Regions from separate parts of the Homo sapiens genome. Here region 1 is linked to region 2. Evidence: promoter capture Hi-C in human tissues and cell types (Jung and others, 2019). All regions are on one chromosome and are shown on one strand. Each heading gives the region's core, a stretch centred on a gene start or on the middle of the fragment in contact. The rest is flanking DNA. Distances are from core to core; before and after follow the strand shown. Region 1 overlaps AGO3 (argonaute RISC catalytic component 3). Region 2 holds the start of COL8A2 (collagen type VIII alpha 2 chain).

Region 1 (5,282 bases), core at 1,028-3,527, 57 kb after region 2:
GACCTGCAGGTGCTCAGAATTGAATTCACATGAAGCAGAAACTTTCACTATATTTTAACCTTTATAGGTACATGATGATTGGAATTTTTAAAGTAAAGCAAAGTTAAATTCTGCAAAGACATGAGTGAAATAAGCACACTTTCTTTCTTAAAATCTAACCCTCTTCTTCAAAGAAAGGTACCAAAAATCGGCCAAGAAACAGGGAATAACCATCTAGTTGTACAATAGCCTCTGATGCTAACATGTAGCAAAAGTGCCTGAAGGCAAAGGCGAAGTTAATTTCTAAGTATTTGTATTTTATTATTATTATTTTTTTTTTTATTGAGACAGAGCTTCGCTTTGTTGCCCAGGCTGGAGTGCAGTGGCACAATCTTGGCTCACTGCAACCTCTGCCACCTGGGTCCAAGCAATTCTCCCACCTTAGCCTCCCGAGTAGCTGGGATTACAGGCACCCTCCATCGTGCCCAGCTAATTTTTGTATCTTTAGTAGAGACGGGGTTTTGCCATGTTGGCCAGGCTGGTCTCGAACTCCTGACCTCAAGTGATCCACCTACCTCGGCCTCCCAAAGTGCTGGGATTACAGGCATGAGCCACCGCACCCAGTCAATTTCTAAGTATTTGATGGTTTTCACCACATTAATCTAACTCAAAACTGCAGCTGCCATAGCACCACTAAAATCATTTGGTTTTTGAAAAGTTATGCTTTTGCCAAGGATTATTATAAAGAAAAATTCAGCCTGTGTGCTGGATATCTTGCAGGGAAGAAACAACAGGATATGTTTGTAAGTGAACACTACACCATGATAAGGCCTATGTTTCTCTTATTCCTATTTCATAAAATGATCTACAACAAAGACATTTTCACAGAGGCAAACTGGAAAGGAATCCTTCACACAACACTCTTCTATTATCTTGAACGTCTGAATAGCTTTTCCTTTGGAGAACTCAAATGCTTCCGCAAACATTATCTTATTCTTACAACAATTTAGTGATCATGCCTATAATCCCAGCACTTTGGGTGGCTGAGGCAGGAGGACTGCTTGAGCTCAGGAGTTAGAGATCAGCCTTGGCAACATGTGAGACCCCATCTCTGCAATAAAAGAAAATAATTAGCTGGGTGTGGTGGCATGTACCTCTAGTCCCAGCTACTTGGGAGGCTGAAGCAGGAGGATAGTTTGGGCCCAGGAGTTGGAGGCTGTAGTGAGCTATGATCACACTACTGTAGTTCAGCCTGGGCAACAGAGTGAGACCCTGACTCAGAACAAAAGAACTCCAACAATTTAGTGAGGTAGGTGAGGACAGGTATTACCACTCTTATTTACAAGGGGAAACTAGGCACACAGAGATTAAACGAATTGCCTAAGGACACGGAGCAAATCAGTGGGAGACCTATTACTAAATTCCAAGTCTCTGGCTCATATTCTAGAGCCCTTTCTACTCTCAAAGGCAATAAATTCTCAATAGGCTTTTTCCATTTGTGATCTTTCAAAAGTTCCTCCATTAAAGAACACCTTAAGCCTTCTCTCTTATAGCCCACGCTTGACTAGGAACTGGGATGAGTTTTAAACTATTTTTACACAATATTTTGCACATATCAAGAAGGCAGATGTGAGACATAAGCTGTATAATAAAGTCAGAATAAATACATAAATTAAGAGAAATGAACAGGTTAAGTATTAATTCATTCAATATAATTTTTTACATATTTTAGAAGCCATGTATCAGAATAAAAGTCATAACATTTTAAAGTTTAAATCAGAGTCCAATTTATCAAAACCATAAGCTATATTAATTTTCTTTAAGAATATGAGGATCTCTGTTGGTTGGCAGAAGGTTAGAATATTACTTTCAAGAATAATTCTTATTTATTTATTTATTTTAAAGATTGGGGTCTTGCTGTATTGCCCAGGCTTGCTTTAAACTCCTGGGCTCAACTATCCTCCTGCCTCATCCTCCTGAGAAGTTCGGACTACAGGTGCAAACCACCACATCTGGCTAATATCAACAATAATATTATCACTGTGCCATAATACATCATATTCCTGATATATACTCTGTTCACATTAGCATTCTATAGCCAGCAAAAAATTCCATGGCTAGAGATAATACTTGCAACATTAATACTTTCAATCTTAATTCTCACTTAACTGAGTTAGAATTTCTCTTCATATATGTTAAAGTTACATTGTAATAATCATCATTCTATCTATTTTTGTTTTATCCTTCCCCTCTTTTATTTTTAACAGTGTGTGTGTTTGTGTGTGAGTGTGTGTGATGGGGAAAAAAGAACAATTGTGTGATTCACAAATGGCATAAAACACTGATTGTATTACAAATAAGAATGGTGGCACTCTAGTAAGTAAGATAATGGAATGTCAAAGGAAACAAACTTTAGAATACAAACATGGAAAACATGCTAAAATATTAATCAAGCTATAGCTTGTGGCATGTGATTCTTCTTTCCCAAGTATTTTGAGAGTGTCATTTACCCCCAGTAGAATTCTATATCAACTGCCTCTAAGTCCTTTTCCTATTCCTTCTTTTTTTTTTTTTTGAGACGGAGTCTCACTCTGCCACCCAGGCTGGAGTGCAATGGTGGGATCTCGGCTCACTGCAACCTCCGCCTCCTGGGTTCCAGACTACCTTGTCTGGAAAGGCCCTGCTTGGTGTTTTCTATTTAAAGGGGAAAACCAAACATGTTATGTTGATAGCAATGCCTGGCTCTATTAAAGATAAATCCTTCATTTAATTTCCTTATTGTAATTCAGACTAGCAGGATTCTCCTGCCTCAGCCTCAGGCGCCTGCCACCACGCCTAGCTAATTTTGTATTTTTAGTAGAGACAGGGTTTCACCATATTGGCCACGCTGGTCTCAAACTCCTGACCTTGTGATCCACCTGCCTTGGCCTCCCAAAGTGCTGGGATTGCAGGCATGAGCCACTGCTCCCGGCCTATTCTTTCTTTTTTAAAGAGGGAATGGGGTTGGACCCTGGGCTAAGAAATGAGAAAGCTCCTGGAAAACCTTAATTGCAATTAATTACTATAGAAGATCAAGTCTGTTGCTAGCAAAACCAAAGCTTCCTTTTGTTAAACTCCCTGGGATCAAACTGTATCCATGAACTGGGTCGGACTGTCTATGCCAAAATTCTTTCTTCATTACAAACTAACCAGTGTTTTTACCAAATCCCACACCAAAACCATTTTCTTTACAGGAAAGACTACATTGTCTGGAAAGGCCCTGCTTGGTGTTTTCTATTTAAAGGGGAAAACCAAAGACACTATGTTGATAGCAATGCCTGGCCCTATTTAAGGATAAAGACTTCATTTAATTTCTTTACTGTAATTCAGAAGCAACTTCCAAGACTTCTCTAAGTTACTGAGAATAGGTGTGCCTTTGGGTCTGGGACAACATTATCATATAAATTTAGATTACAGAGACGCTCGTCTTAGGTCTCTTCTGTAGGTTCAAATAGCAATAGCTGCTCTTTTACTCTGCAAATATTAAACAATTGTAAGGTTTCTGTCCAAGGATCCCAGCAAGGAAGCCTTATCCTAAATCCCCCCTCACTATATATTCTCACAATCCTACTAGTCTATTTCTTTACAAAGACCTCCAGTTTCTACAGATTCTGACAATAAAGAGTCACGTATGCAACATTTTTGCAGTCTTTCCTTCTTTGGTTCTAAAAAGACTATTAAAGGACTAACTTAAGAGATTTTTGTTTGTTTTCCCAACCAAAAATGAAATAAAGATGAAATAAAGCCATGAAATAAAGATGAAAGTTTTGTCTTTTATTTTTAAAATTATTATTATTTTTTGAGACGGAGTTTCACTCTTGTCGCCCAGGCTGGAGTGCAGTGGCATGATCTCGGCTCACTGCAACCTCCGCCTACCGGGTTCAAACGATTCTCTCGCCTCAGCCTCCCGAGTAGCTGGGATTACAGGCGCCCACCACCATGCCTGGCTAATTTTTGTATTTTTAGTAGAGACGGGTTTTGCCATGTTGTCCAGGCTGGTCTCGAACTCCTGACCTCAGGTAATCAGCCTGCCTCGGCCTCCCGAAGTGCTGGGATTACAGGTGTGAGCCACCGTGCCCGGCCAAGATGAAAGTTTTAGGCACTAAATATCAGAGTAATCTCCCTCTCTAGTCTCTGGTGTTGCCTCTTCAACATCAAACATAAAATTATAGATAGCATACCGCCAATTTTTGGAAAGAATAAAATTTAAAAAGCAAGGCTCTAATGACCAACACTTCCATCTGTTTTCTACGCATAACGCTGTTCATGGCAATTCTTTTTTGGGATGATCTATTACTGCACAACGATTTTTTTTTTTTTTTGAGACAGAGTCTCACTCTGTTGCCCAGGCTGGAGTGCAGTGGCACGATCTTGGCTCACTGCATCCTCCGCCACCACACCCGGCTAATTTTTGTATTTTTAGAAGAGACAGGGTTTTGCCATGTTGGCCAGGCTGGTCTTGAACTCCTGACCTCAGGTGATCTGCTCACCTCAGCTGCCCAAAGTGTTGGGATTACAGGTGTGAGCCACTGCACCTGGCCACAAAGCTTTCTTTCTAAAGAGGTGAACTAAACATGAACAAGCCATCAAGTACTTCACTGCGGTCAAGCTGTACTGATGTCAGGTAGCAGGATTTGTGGAGCCAACCAGTTAAAACAGCAAAATAAGCTCTATATGCCAGGTTTCTATGAACTTTCAGAAGGAAAAAGAAAACACAGGACCAGAGGCACCTTTTTTTGTTTGTATGTTTGTTTTGAGATGGAGTCTTGCTCTGTTGCCAGGCTGGAGTGCAGCGGTGCAATCTTGGCTCACTGCAACCTCCGCCTCCCAGGTTCAAGTGATTCTCCTGCCTCAGCCTCCCAAGTAGCTGGGACTACAGGCGTGTGCCACCACACCCAGCTAATTTTTGTATTTTTAGTAGAGATGGGGTTTCAGCATGTTGGCCAGGATGGTCTCCATCTCTTGACCTCGTGATCCGCCCACCTCGGCCTCCCAAAGTGCAGGGATTACAGGCGTGAGCCACCATGCCCAGCCCAGAGGCAACTTTTAAAATGTTGGTTTTCAGGAACTACATGTCTGCTAACCTTGGACATGTTGAAATGTAATGAATACAACTATTAAGGTTATAAGCGCAATAAATATCCTTAAAAGGGGACATACAATCACAGCAAAAATATTTTGCTTTTTTTTTTTTTGAGACGGAGTCTTGCTCTGTCGCCCAGGCTGGAGTGCAGTGGTGTGATCTTGGCTCACTGCAACCTCCG
Region 2 (4,872 bases), core at 2,357-4,856:
AGGTTTTAGAGAAATGAGGTCACTTGCCCACAGCTACAGAGAGGCAGCACTGGGATCCAAACCAGGTCTGCTGGACTCCTCAGCCCACTGTCTGAACCACTAGGCTGGTGCCAGAGATGACTCTGCCAGGGGCCGGGCTAGAAAGTTACATGTTGCGTCTGGTTCAGTTTAACTACCCACCCCATTTGATACCCCTGCCCAGGCCTAGAACGGTCCTTGAAGCCTCACTGGCCAGCTTCTGATTGTCGTGGCTGAGGGAACTAAATCCCAGAGAGGGGCAGCAACTTGCCCAAGGCCACACAGCAGATGATCATAGGCAGAGCTGACCCATTGATATCCAGACACCACCAGAGACAGGCCAAGGTGGAAGCCCCTGGCAGGGGCGGGTAAGGAGTCTGGCTGGGAGTTTGGCCTTGTCAAGAGATAAGGCTTGGTGTGAGAGTCCACGACCTCTGCGCAAATAGCTGGTGGATAAGGAGACAGCGGCCACAAGATCATGGCACAGCTGTCAGCCTCTACTGGGGGATGGGGAGCTGAGGCCCCCTTGGGGTTGGGGAGGCGCCTGATGGCCAATGAACACCAGGGCCACAGGATCTGGCCACGGGACAGGGCCCAGACTTGGCGTCCAGGGCTGGTTGAAAGGAGAAGGAGCTGCAGCCCTCCCTCCCTGCAAAGCACTGGGCAGGGGCAGGTGGGGCAGGGGTTGGGGGGAAAGGGAGGGGATTGGGGACAGGTGTGTACCTCATAGAATCAGGCCTGAGGGCCCCAGGAAAAGTGTAAGGAGTGAGTCAGGAGACCCAGGGGTGGGATCTGAGTGGGGGACCAGCTGAATTTGTGTCTGAATGTGGGTGTGAAGCCCATGGGAGTCCCTTTCCCACAAAGCATGCCCCTCCCTTGCCCGTTTGTGTCACCAGGCCCCACTTCATGCAGCGCTCCCTCCCTTCTCTCTAAACAGCTCACACTCAGAGTGAAGTGCTCTGCATGGATTGACTGTCATCCTCACAACATGCCTATGAGAGCTTCCCAGATGGAGAAACTGAGGCACCAGAGGTTAAGTGTTTGCCCAATGGCATGTGGCTGGTAGGTGGTGGCACTTGGATTTGAACCCAGGCAGTCTAACTCCAGGGTCTTTGCTGTCAACCTTTAGTCCCTGCTGCCTAGCTCCCACCCCCTCCCAGCCCGTCCCCATGCACACTCAGCCCCCATCAGATCCCCATGCAGGGTCTGGTTTCCACACCAGCTTCAGGGTCAGAACTCTGCAATCTCCCCTCAGTCGGTGTCCTCCTAGGCACCCTGCCAGCCAGGCCCCCTCCCTTCTCTGGGCAGTGCCCCAGCCTGGCTCCCCTGTAGTTCAGGCCAGGAGGCCAGACCCAAAGACCCCTGGCAATTGCCCCCAATTCTGACGGGTGGGATGGAGTGGGCCAGGCTCTGACGGTAGGTGAGGGTGAGAGGCCCCGTTGTGGAGTGGCGGGGCTGGTGTGTACCTTGGCAGGGGGACAGAAAAGTGGGAGGCCCTCAGAGGGCAGGCAGCAGAAGGGGGAAGGTTGAGGGGGGTGGGCCCTGACCCGAGACAGCCTGGGGCCCTCCCTGCTCCTTTCCTGGACCTGGTGAGGGCTCTGCTCTTTCCCACTGAAAATACACACACACACAGCCACACTCACCCCCACACACAGCCACCCACACCCCCCCACAGACACACAAACACACACACACACTCCCACCCACACTCACACAGCCACACACACCCACACCCACAAACACAGAGCCACACACACACTCCCATCCCCACACACAGCCACACACACACCCATACCCACAAACACACAGCGGCACCCACACACCCACACACACAGACACCCATACCCCCAAACACAGCCCCCCACACACACTCCCACTCACACCCCCCCACACAGCCACACACACAAAGCTACAATACACCCACACAGCCACACACACCCACACAAAGCCACATAGCCACATCCACACACCCAAATGCAGCCACACCCCCCACACCCCCCCACGCACATACCTCCCCACACGCACACAAATACACACCCCCACCCCTCCACACACCTACACACATGCTGACCCCCCACCCATGCGCGCACACACACACTTGCACACCCAAGCACACATACCTCCACATATGCCCACACCCACCTACACGCATGCACACACACACCCAGGCACGCACACACACACACATGCACACACACACACACACACCCACCTACACGTACACACACAGGCACGCGCACACACACATGCACGCACACACACGCCCACACCCACCTACATGCACACACAGACACCCACACTCACCTACATGCACACACGCACACAGACACACACACACACACACCCCAAAATCCTTTCCTGACCTCATCTCCCCTTCCCTCTGCACTTGCTGCCTCCTCCTTTCTCCCCTGCTGCCTGGCTACTGCCCCTACCCCCACCCCAACCTCCAACCCTTAATTGCTGTCCCTAAGAATGTCCTTCTGTGACAGCCCATCCCGTGGGCCTCCCTGGCCTTCTAGAAGCACTCTGCCTTTGCCTTCTGGGACACTGCTCTCCCGGTCCCTGCCATCTTCTCAGTCTCCTTTGCCGACCCCTCTCCCTGGGCAGCCCCGTGAATGCTGATGAGTGTCCTGCCCGCGCCCTGCCCGCCTCCCTGGGCCCGCTCCTTATTCTATGGCATCAGTCGCCATCTGCAAACCGTGGATTCCTCCTCGCTATCCCAGAACTCTCACCTCCCTTCCGGATCCATGGAAGTCCCACAGGCTCATCCAATTCATTACATCCGTCCTCCTTCTTCTCCTAGACCCTGCCGCCCCCAGGCCTAGCCCAAAGCCTGCGCACTGTCCTTGACACTGCTTCTTCCTAGGCCCCTCGCCCAAACTCTGCCTAGTTCGCCTCCTCACTCCCCTCACACTGGGCCCTCCCTTTCCTTCCCCCTCACTGTGCACCTCATGGGACCATGCCAGGGTATTCCCGCAGCCTCCTCGGTGGCCTGCCTCTATCTTCCTCCACACAGCTTCGGGAGGCTCTTTCCAAAGCACACATCTGACCACGTGACTGCCCTGCTCCAGAGCCTTCCGTGACTCCCCATTTCCGAGGGACGAGGTCTGGCCTGCTCCCGCCTGCCTCTGTGACCCCGGCTCAATGCCCTAAAGCCTGAATGTGCGGGTCACGACTGGCCCCTGTGAGTCCTCCGGGCTCAGCCTACCGAGGTCACGTCTGCAGGCAGCCTTCTGGGGACTCCTCACTGGGGGCCACCAGCCCGAGCTGCCCCTTCCCTGCAGGACCACGCCTGGCCGTCCTTCTCAGCAGCCGCGTCCGTCCCCACAGGCAGGTGGCCCCTCGAGGGCAGGGGCTGCGCGGACTCCCCGGCGGCCGAGCCGCGGGTCAGGTGGACGGGGAGGGATGGGGGCGGGCCGCCCGGGAGCGCGTGTGTGGAGGGGGCTCGGCGTGGGTGTCGGGGAGGGAGGCAGCCGTCCGAGTCCGCGCTGGGCGCGCTGGGCCGGGCGGGGCGCGGGCCTTGGCCGTGGCTGTGGAAAGAGGAGGGCGGAGGCCCCGCCCCGACGCGCCCCTCCTGCCGCCCGCCCACTCCGGCAGCCGCGAGGGGCGGCCGGCAGAGCGACGCGGAACCCCGCCGGCGCGGACCCCGGACCCCAACGCCGCCCGCCCAGCCGCGGACGCCCCTGCCCGGAGCCCTCGCCGCCCGGGCCGCCCTCGAGGGCCGGGAGCGGCGCCCGGCGGCCGCGCCCGCAGGTAAAGGCCAGGAGGCGGGCACCGGGGCTCGGGCTGGGGGGCTCCGAGGGCAAGACCTGGGCTGGGCTTCCCCCAACACCATGCGGGATAGCAGGGCCGGCGCCTCGGACTCCGGGGTGGGGACGCGGTGGGGGACTCGGGCCAGGGGGTCGCCTTAGAATGGGGGAGCCCATCCCGTTCCCTGTGCCCCGTTCCCTCCCCGGCAGGATCCCAGTAAAGCCCCCTCCTCCCTTCCTCTCCCAGAAGCGAGGGCTCCAGCATAAGACAGTGCCGGGTGCAACCCCCGACGATGTGGCTCTGGGCGCGTCACCACCTCCCGATCTCCCGTCCCACCTGTAAAGTGGGGATAAAAAAGCCGCCTTCACAGGGTAGTGGAGGAGAGAGGAGGGAGTGAGGGGCCTTAGCATCCCCCCGCTCTCACTCCTGCCCCCATCTCTCTGCCATTGCTGATTTGCTGGAGACCTTCCAGTTATAAGGTTTTTCTGCCTTAGCCCCCAGGTTCCTCCTATTCTAGGTGCCCTGTCAGTCCCCTCGCCCCAAACTGAAGACAAGTTCCCAGGAATGTTCCTGTCAGGGGCTCAGCATCCCCCCAGCTCCAGACTGAGACTTGCAGGGGGTGAGGGGCCGCTGCCTGGCCAAGAGGGACTGGGGTCCCAGGGCCCCAGAACAACCTCCCAGTGTCTCTGCCCTGGGTCTGGAGCCACCCTAGCCCCGGAAATCCTCCAGGTAGAGAAATGCTATTCAGCCAGAGGGCCCAGGAACGCTATTGCCACGGGGAAAACTTTGCTGGTTGTATGTGTGCACGCACGTGTGTGTGCCTGTGTGAGACCATGCTGGGTTCCTGACACAGACGTGCGGCTGACCTCCTTAGGGGTGCCGGAGCAACCAGAAATCATCCCTCCTGTCTGCTATCAGTACCTCTTGCTCAGGCTGGCAGCAGGGGCTCATCCACTCCTCTTAGCAGAGTCCCCTTGGCAAGGACAGCCTCCCAGCAGCTGTACTGGGCATTTGAAAAATCTGGGGGCCGTGGAGCTGGATGGCTGGAGGGTCAGGCAGCCTGGGGTTCCTCTCTGGGGACTGAGCTAAGATCGACTGATCCTT

Evidence for each region. Contacts are between HindIII fragments. The study calls those that stand out against the background at their distance.
Region 1: a contact is called between a fragment that was not itself captured here and the fragment with the promoter of COL8A2 in region 2, in 10 of the 25 tissues and cell types used here (H1 embryonic stem cells, adrenal gland, dorsolateral prefrontal cortex and 7 more).

The regions. Positions count from the first base shown.
Region 1 is chr1:36,065,098-36,070,379 of GRCh38, reverse strand. It overlaps AGO3 (argonaute RISC catalytic component 3), which reads right to left. Exons shown (of 19, transcript NM_024852.4): 19 at 1-5,282. Among named protein-coding and RNA genes, the nearest start is that of TEKT2, 16 kb to the left of the region's middle. The HindIII fragment of the contact is 8,465 bases long and covers 1-5,282 here.
Region 2 is chr1:36,123,956-36,128,827 of GRCh38, reverse strand. It overlaps COL8A2 (collagen type VIII alpha 2 chain), which reads left to right and starts at 3,606. Exons shown (of 4, transcript NM_005202.4): 1 at 3,606-3,771. The HindIII fragment of the contact is 15,339 bases long and covers 1-4,872 here.